2 separate regions of the Homo sapiens genome follow, and region 1 is linked to region 2. The links are contacts of gene promoters, found by promoter capture Hi-C in human tissues and cell types (Jung and others, 2019). All regions are on one chromosome and are shown on one strand. Each heading gives the region's core, a stretch centred on a gene start or on the middle of the fragment in contact. The rest is flanking DNA. Distances are from core to core; before and after follow the strand shown. Region 1 overlaps TARS1 (threonyl-tRNA synthetase 1). Region 2 holds the start of SLC45A2 (solute carrier family 45 member 2).

Region 1 (4,860 bases), core at 885-3,384, 520 kb before region 2:
ATTGATGGACACTGATGTATAATTGTCCCTTATTATCAGCCATGCTGCAGTAGCATCACTTTTATAAGCCTCCTTAGGTACATGTGCCAAGAGTTTTCTCTCTGGTATATACTTAGAAGTGGGATTTCTGAATCATGGCATGTGTCCATCTTTTTCATGAGAGAGTATAAAATCACTCTTTAAGTTTTTACTCCCACTTGAAGTATGAGCATTTATTTGCCTACACATGTTTCTGTTTATTTTCTATCAGAGCGAATATAGGAAAAGAGGATTCCAGGAGGTAGTCACCCCAAACATCTTCAACAGCCGACTCTGGATGACCTCGGGCCACTGGCAGCACTACAGCGAGAACATGTTCTCCTTTGAGGTGGAGAAGGAGCTGTTTGCCCTGAAACCCATGAACTGCCCAGGACACTGGTATTCGGCAGCTTTGAATTTCTACTGAAGATTTTCACATGCTACAATTCATCCTGGGTTCTTCCCTCCTTTAACAACATTTTCATTAAAAACAAATTATGTGATCAGAAGAGCATTTAAACGCAACATCTTTGTATTATATCTTCTGCACCTGATTAGATCCCCACTTTTTTTTTTTTTTTTTTTAAAGAGGTCTTCCAACTGGAGTGCAGGTATGCGATTATAGCTCACTGCAGCTGGGACTGCAGGTATATGCCACCATGCCCAGCTAATTTTTAAAATTTTATTTCTGTAGAGATGAGGTCTTGCCACGTTGCTCAGCCTGGTCTCAAACTCCTGGCCTCAAGCGGTCCTTCAACCTTGGCTTCCCAAAGCGCTGGGATTACAGGCATGAGCCACTGTGCCCAGCCAGATCTCCAGATCTGTGGGCATTCAGTAATGGTACTGGGATCATAGCAATGACCAAGGCAGACTATAAAACAGGAAGATGAAATATGGGGGTGTAACAAATTACCTAGTGTGTTGTTGTTTTAAAGAAACCTGTTCTGTCAAAACCTGCTAATGACTCAGCATTCTTGGAAAATGTTCCTTGTCATGAGGCCGCTCTGCTTTCTATCTTTGAAAGTTGGGTGAAGAACAGCTTAAGGGAAGACACAGGAGAGCTGTGGATACAGGTAGCTTAGTGTCTGCAGCTCCTACTAGCCAGGCCTGGAGGGCAGAGGAGGTGAGAGAAGAATCTTTGTGAAGAAGCTGTATTATAGGCTAGGGGACCAACCAAGTTCATTCTTAATTTTCCCAGATTCTTCAGTTGTTGGAATACGTTTTTTAATTCTTCACTGTGGTTCATTGAGTTATAACTTATTTGCTGTTTTATTCATGCAAGTGCTTTTACTGCTGTATGTAGCCCAGAATTTGAGAAATGTTGCTTGGATGGACAGCTAGAATCAGTGGCTTTTTGACAACCTTTCGTGTAATTAAATATAGCATTACAGAAGCAGTTTTATTCTTAAGTGTCCGTGGACTTTTCTTTTTCTCTTCAGCCTTATGTTTGATCATCGGCCAAGGTCCTGGCGAGAACTGCCTCTGCGGCTAGCTGATTTTGGGGTACTTCATAGGAACGAGCTGTCTGGAGCACTCACAGGACTCACCCGGGTACGAAGATTCCAACAGGATGATGCTCACATATTCTGTGCCATGGAGCAGGTATGAGACCCTGGGAATAAAATACTTAGAAAGAAGAGTCAAGAAAGTCAAGGAAAATAACTACTGTTTCTTTTTTTGTTTTTTAATTTGAAGATTGAAGATGAAATAAAAGGTTGTTTGGATTTTCTACGTACGGTATATAGCGTATTTGGATTTTCTTTTAAACTAAACCTTTCTACTCGCCCGGAAAAATTCCTTGGAGATATCGAAGTATGGGATCAAGCTGAGAAAGTAAGTGGTGTTTTTCAGCGTGCTTTTGAATACTGTTTGAAATTGGCTTGTTCTGAGATGTAAGAAAGCCAAGCCTCTTTAAATGGATAAAAGCAAAATGAAATTGGAAATGGTTCCTAGGTTTGTGTAAGCTAGTTTTTTTCTTTATGATTGTGTATTTTTGAAATGGTTGAATGTTTTCATGACTTTTTTCAGTTATCAAGCTATAAGCTTTAAAAAGGGGTTGGTATGAGCATATGTTCAGGTGGACAAAATTCTAAAGCAGAGAATATTGATCTATGAAAGTAATTACTGTATTTTTAGTCTCAAATTAGGCTAAAAGAAGGGAAATTGCGATGAAAAAAATAAAAATCATTTTGCTTTATCCTCAGCAACTTGAAAACAGTCTGAATGAATTTGGTGAAAAGTGGGAGTTAAACTCTGGAGATGGAGCTTTCTATGGCCCAAAGGTGAGCACTAAAGTACATTTGGGTAATATGATTTTCACTTGTGGATGAAGAAGATACGACTTCGAAAAAAGTTGGAAAAAAGAAAATCAGCCCTAATCCAACTATTGAGCTCCACTTTAGTATCACTGGCATTTTATAATAACCCAGTCTTTGCTTCTTAGATTGACATACAGATTAAAGATGCGATTGGGCGGTACCACCAGTGTGCAACCATCCAGCTGGATTTCCAGTTGCCCATCAGATTTAATCTTACTTATGTAAGGTGAGTTTCTGGTGTCTGCTCTGAATATTCTCCAGGGATATATAAGAGAAAATATATATAATAAGACAAAACAATTTTTTTTTTCTTTATAGCCATGATGGTGATGATAAGAAAAGGCCAGTGATTGTTCATCGAGCCATCTTGGGATCAGTGGAAAGAATGATTGCTATCCTCACAGAAAACTATGGGGGCAAATGGTAATTTTTGTCACTGTCTTTTTTTTCTGATTAGTATAAATTGGCTACAAGAAATGTCTACTTTTCGATTTAATTATCAGATGGAAAGGGAGAATGATTCCAATCGGTTGCTTCTAACTAACGACAAGTGTTCATTAAAAAATAAGGAATCACAATCTAAACACAAACTTTTTAGCATTAAGAACAATTGCTAATAGTAATTACTTTAATTCCAGAACTTGATTTGTTTGGATGTTGTGTAATACTTTCTAATTAGGAATTAGTATTCTGTAAGAAGTATACTTACTGTTTTGGATGCTTTTCTAGTAACTTTGTTTTGGGATTTAGATGGCTTTGCTGGTTTTACATAGATAAATGAGGAGGCTTATGGCTTTCTTCGTTCAGCCTTGCTAATCATAACAAGCAGGTATTTGGACATGTTTTAAAAGCCAAGCATTTTTTAAAACAGATGCCAAACCGATCAACATTTGTGATTCATTTCTGTGAGGTTAAGTAAGTTTTTGTTTCCAAGATACATGGCCACATAACTTTCATCTTAATTCTTAAGCAGTTTTTTCTGGACCCACAGTGCATTTGAAAGCAGCACAGGGTTATAAAAGCACCCGTGTGTAGAGCCTTCCATATTAATCATATTGATTTAAAACTTTTGTAAAATGACGTACATTGGTTTAATCTTACACATTACTGTCATTTCAGTTTTATTTGAACTTGGTTACTTCAGAAATTAGGACAGTTTCTCATTCTGATCAATGATACAAGATAATCTCTAGATTTCTCAAAGTCAGATAAAATGTGAGACACATTCTCTGCAAGGTATTTCAAGAATTAAGGGAGTCCTCAGCTAATTGCTCTGCTAAACCTGTTTTAGGTGGGGAAAAGTCCATGATTAGGGTAGAATTTAGTGCCTACTTTAGCCTTTTGCCTGATACAACAGAACAACTGAAAATAGAGGAATGATGGAGAAAAACATTAGCCTGATGTTTGCAGCATCAGAAGCATTTGACACTTGTATTGCTTCAAAGGGAGAATTGGATGGGCTTATTTTTTAATAAGTAGTGAAAACTCTGATTTTTACCAAGTGCCATAACCAGTTATTATCAATTACAATTTGCTGAATGATACAAAATGGATGTTGAGTAAACTGAGGGCACTGTGTCCCCGTGAAGAATAAGTAATAAAATGAACAATTAATCACTACATGCAGTTATTAAATCATTTGTTACCTCCTCTCACAGCCAATACACAGTGTTTTGTGATGTATTAAAGTGTGAGGCCTAGTCCTATCCTCAATTTGCTTTGCTATCTACTTAGCAAGACAAATTGTAGTTACAGGCTTTCCTTACGTAGGGTTAGTTTTCTTCTCCTGCATCTCCTCGCCTTAATCTTTATTGGATAGGTCTTTTCATTTTGGGGTTTTTTAAAGCCAAGTTTTAAAAGTAGTCGTTACATGTTCCAGGAAAAGATACTGAAGAGTAGAGTAAGAAATATGCTGTCCCTGTTTAGTGAATATGCCCACATCTACACTGAATATTTTTATTCTCTTCCAAAGGCCCTTTTGGCTGTCCCCTCGCCAGGTAATGGTAGTTCCAGTGGGACCAACCTGTGATGAATATGCCCAAAAGGTAAGCCTTAGATATGAATTTTCTTTCAATTTAACATCTGTTGTTCAGCTTTTCAAATCACATAAGCCCTGTATTCTTGGTGAATCGAGCTGTTGTGATAAAGAGAAATGTTACTATTTTTAATCTTTGTTAAGCCTGAATAGATTATATTACTTCTTTAATGCTTTTCTCCATGATTCCATAATCAGAAGACATATTTGGATAGTGTTTTATGTACACTTGTATATTTTATTGTATTTGTTTTAAGAGATGGGATCTTTCTCTTGCCCCAACTGGAGTGCAGTAGTACAGTCATGGCTCACTGTAACCTCAAACTCCTGGGCTCACGCAGTCCTCCCACCTTGGCCTCCCGAGTAGCAGTGACTACAGGCAGGAGCCACCATACCCAGTTACACTTGTATATTTTAGTATTTAGTATTTTAAAAAACCAGATTAGCAGATATCAGGTACTTCAGTATGGTAGGTAAATTCCCGTTCAA
Region 2 (4,394 bases), core at 1,175-3,674:
CCTTGTCCTGATGGGAGCAGACATCAAATAAGTAGGCTTTGATGGGCCCATCAATGAAGTCGGCAGCAAAATCAAAGAGAACGACACCTATCATGGTGACACTTATGGCCCAAACCAGCTTCCTCCTTGGGTTAGCAATCAAAGCTAAAAGAAAAATAAACATTGGTCTCCTAAATCCTGTTTTAGAATCATCCGCGTTTTGTAATTTCCACCTAAACTTCTTGCCATAAAATCATCTTCCTTGCTTTTATTTTGCTTTTTTCCAAATAAAAATAGCTTTACATTTTTTTTCAGGTTTTAAAAATTATGCAAGCGAATGTCCAGAAAACACAAATCTATGGAGACACAAAGTAAATTAGTGGTTGCTTAGGGCTGGTGCATAGGGGAAAAGTGGACGTGACTATTGATGGTAATGGGTTTATTTTGGGGGTGATGAAAATGTTGTAGAATTAGAGAGTGGTAATGGTTGCACAACATACTAAAGGCACTGAATTGTACACTTTTAATTAGTGAAATTTCTGGTATGTAAAATATCTCCTTAAATAAAAAAGTATGCATGCTTATCGCAAGCAATTCCAATTCTATTAAAAAAGCTGAGGGAGATGCTTCCAATCCCAGCCCCAGCAAAGGTCAGGCTTTAAGGCCTCCTTTTACGCACTTCTGCACATACAGACACACGTGTACAATGGTAGTCAAACGCAGTGCTTCTCAAAGTCTGGCATATTGAACTATCGCTTGTATGTCTTGTTAAAACACAGATTGCTGGCCCCATTTCCCAAGACTCTGATTCAATTGGTGGGCCTGAAGGGGGCCCGAGAAACTGCATCTCTAACGGTCTCTGCTGATGCTGAGGGGCAGGTCAGAGGCCACATCTTTGAACAGCACTGATGCAGTAACCAACTTTCTTCATATAATTTCAGCTCCTCACAATTTTTAACAGCTGGATTTTCATTCTACGGATACGCTGTAATCGTTTACCCAATCTCCTATAAAAGATACATTGTTGTTTCTCTTGTTTCCATTTGCTTTTTAAACTTAAGAATAGCATAGATTATATACACGTTTTAAAAATTGCAGTATAAAATTAAATGAACAATAAGTCTACCCGCCACTTCTCACCTCCTGTCCTTCAGTAATCCTCCTTAGAGTCAACAATGCTTATCAGCTTTTTGTTCATTCTCCTGGAAATATCCTACATTTGTACATTTACGCTTTCTTTCAAATATGTACAAATGATAATTGATTATCCTGCCTCATAATCACCGATTCTGCTAGCTTGAGAGTTAATGATCTACAAATGTGTGCTATTTTTAGCGATCCTTTTTGCAATGCAACTTTATTGTACTACCATCAATTACTGATTAATTGGTAGCTGATTAATGGCTAGAAAAAATGCCTACCCTCAGGTTTGCTTTTGTCCAGAATTTGCAATGCCAGAAAGGTCCTCTTGAGCTGATGGGCTTATGCCCTACGCCTATTAAAACGCTCTACATAAAACTATGAACAGAATTAACTTATTTGGATACACAGGTGACTTATTGTAAATATTTATGGAGCTATTTGGCAGCCAGTCAATTTGATAAGAGTATTAAATAGAGCATAATGGGCTCAAAAAGTAACTCAATTGATAAATATGTAAAAATATTCAATTCGATAAAATAGATACAAATTTAATAAAATAGATACAAATTTAATCCTATTTTTAAATCTTCACAACAATGAAACATATTTATTTTGATATTTCTAGAAGTAGAGGCTCCCCAACCACAGAATCTGGGCCAAATTTGTCAAAGGGGAAGTTCATTGTAACCTAGGAGAGATCAATTCTAACAAATTTCTAGGAAAGGTCAAACACATGAACATCCTCCTCCTGCAGAGGTACACACTAAGACACATATCCCTGTCTGCCCACCTTGTGCAGCCCACTTACCTGCTACAACAGTAGCCCCATTGAGGTACAGAGCCATGCCCACGAGCATCATGACTCCCAGGGTGAGGATGTAGGGTCTCCGGCGGCCCCACCTGGACCGGCAGTGGTCGCTGGCCGATCCGACCACGGGCTGCAGCAGGAATCCCAGGATGGGGCTGAGGAACCACACAATGCTGTACAGGCTGCTGGGCAGACCTACGCTGAGCAGGACTGGGGTCACATACGCTGCCTCCACCGCGTAGCAGAACTCTCTTCCGAACATGGCCATGCTGTGCATGATGAGTCTGCTGGTGGGTCTTTTAGGCGGCTCCACAGAGTCAAAGGGGCCATCATCAGCTAGGGATTTATAGATGTGGCGGCCAGCCTGCCCACTGTTGCTACCCATGGCCACTGGGAGAGGAACCTTCCTGCGAGCCCACCACCTCCTGCGTGGTCCTAGGGTCTGTGTTTCAAACTGGATTTGACGTGGAGCCTGGCCGAGCAACCAACAGAGATGGTCAGGCTGGGGGAGGGGCTCAAATTCTTTCCTGCCTCTAAGATCACAAGTTATGATGAGAGGGAGGGGGTGGTGCTGGAAAGCATGACAGAGATTAGCAGCTGTGAATCAGCCCTCTGGCTCCATAAGACGTTGGAATACTTTTCTAAAGGGATCCTCCTTTGTACTGTTCCCTCTCTCTTTCTCTCTCTCTCACACACACACACAATTACACGTGATCACACACATGGCTTCTCTCCCTCTCACACACACGTTATTACACGTGATCACACACATGGGCTCTCTCAGACAGTATTACACATGATCACACACATGGTTTCTCTCTCACACACACATGCTATTACACATGATCACACACGTGGCTTCTCTCACACACACATTATTACACATGATCACACACATGGCTTCTCTCACACACACGCTATTAAACGTGATCACACCTGGCTTCTCACACACACATGCTATTACACATGATCACACACGGCTTCTCACACACATGCTATTACACATGATCACACACATGGCTTCTCTCACACACATTACACATGATCACACATGGTTTCTCACATACATGCTATTACACATGATCACACACGGCTTCTCTCATGCATGTTATTACACATGATCATACACATGGCTTCTCACACACATGCTATTACACATGATCACACATGGCTTCTCTCACACACATTACACATGGTCACACATGGCTTCTCTCACATGCGTTATTACACATGATCATACATGGCTTCTCTCTCACATGCTATTACACATGATCACACATGGCTTCTCATGCATTTTATTACACATGACCACACACATGGCTTCTCTCACACACGTTATTACACATGGTCACACATGGCTTCTCTCACGTTATTACACATGATCATACATGGCTTCTCTCACACATTATTACACATGACAGCTTCTCTCTCACACACTATTGCACATGATCACACATGGCTTCTCTCACACACACATGCTATTGCACATGATCACACATGGTTTCTCTCTCACACACGTTATTACACAACGATCACACACGGCTTCTCTCTCATACACATTATTACACATGACCACACACATGGCTTTTCTCTCACACACACTATTACACATGATCACACATGGGGCTTTTCTCGTTATTACACATGATCGGACTCATGGCTTCTCTCACACACACATGCTATTACACATGATTGCACACATAGCTTCTCTCTCACACACGTGTTATTACACATCACACACGGCTTCTCACACACGTTATTTTACACGATCACACACATGGCTTCTCTCACACACGTTATTTTACATGATCACACACATGGCTTCTCTCTCACAGACGTTATTACACATAATTACATATGGCTTCTCTCTCTCATACACACATGCTATTACACATGATCACACACATGGCCGTGAGGTAATAAAGCCTTATTACATAGAGTTTGTCAAAATGTAAATAAATTGATATCTTTTCATAAACTTTTTATAAATATAGACATTCTATTTTTTACTACAAGTTTTCCACACACACAGCTCAGGAGTGAAATAACTAGATTTAAAATGGTGGCAGGTCACACCCTTCTTCAAATCATTAGCTGTGTCAGATCGCCCTGATATTTCTCCTCGTGGTACTTAACACATTTTACAATGAGATAATTCTGGGTTTATTCCATATCCTGTGTTTGTCTTTGATTTCCTCAAGAGCGGAGAACAGGTCTGTTTTGTTCATTATGGTATCCCCAGCAAGTATCATGATACCTGGCACCTAGTAGATCCTCAATAAACATTTGCTAAAGGAATTACTGAGTGAATAAACCATACACACTGCATTTTGTGCTGCCTGTCTGCTCAGATCTATTTCCTTTGGTGCTCTTTATCTTATGGGGCTACATTTCCAGGGTTCCCTTGTTTTCTGGCTTCTAGGTAGATTTGGCTAATGGGAGACACTGGTAGGAAGACTAGGGG

Evidence for each region. The method cuts DNA at HindIII sites, captures the fragments that hold promoters and counts their contacts. A contact is called where the count stands out against the background at its distance.
Region 1: a contact is called between a fragment that was not itself captured here and the fragment with the promoter of SLC45A2 in region 2, in 1 of the 25 tissues and cell types used here (mesendoderm cells).

Annotation. Positions count from the first base shown.
Region 1 is chr5:33,459,445-33,464,304 of GRCh38, forward strand. It overlaps TARS1 (threonyl-tRNA synthetase 1), which reads left to right. Exons shown (of 19, transcript NM_152295.5): 11 at 251-417; 12 at 1,458-1,620; 13 at 1,714-1,851; 14 at 2,223-2,300; 15 at 2,462-2,562; 16 at 2,655-2,759; 17 at 4,309-4,381. Among named protein-coding and RNA genes, the nearest start is that of TARS1, 21 kb to the left of the region's middle. RefSeq lists an enhancer at 977-2,176. The HindIII fragment of the contact is 3,709 bases long and covers 281-3,989 here.
Region 2 is chr5:33,982,269-33,986,662 of GRCh38, forward strand. It overlaps SLC45A2 (solute carrier family 45 member 2), which reads right to left and starts at 2,425. Exons shown (of 7, transcript NM_016180.5): 1 at 1,931-2,425; 2 at 1-144. The coding sequence starts at 2,315. It overlaps AMACR (alpha-methylacyl-CoA racemase), which reads right to left. Exons shown (of 5, transcript NM_014324.6): 5 at 3,897-4,394. The HindIII fragment of the contact is 13,392 bases long and covers 1-4,394 here.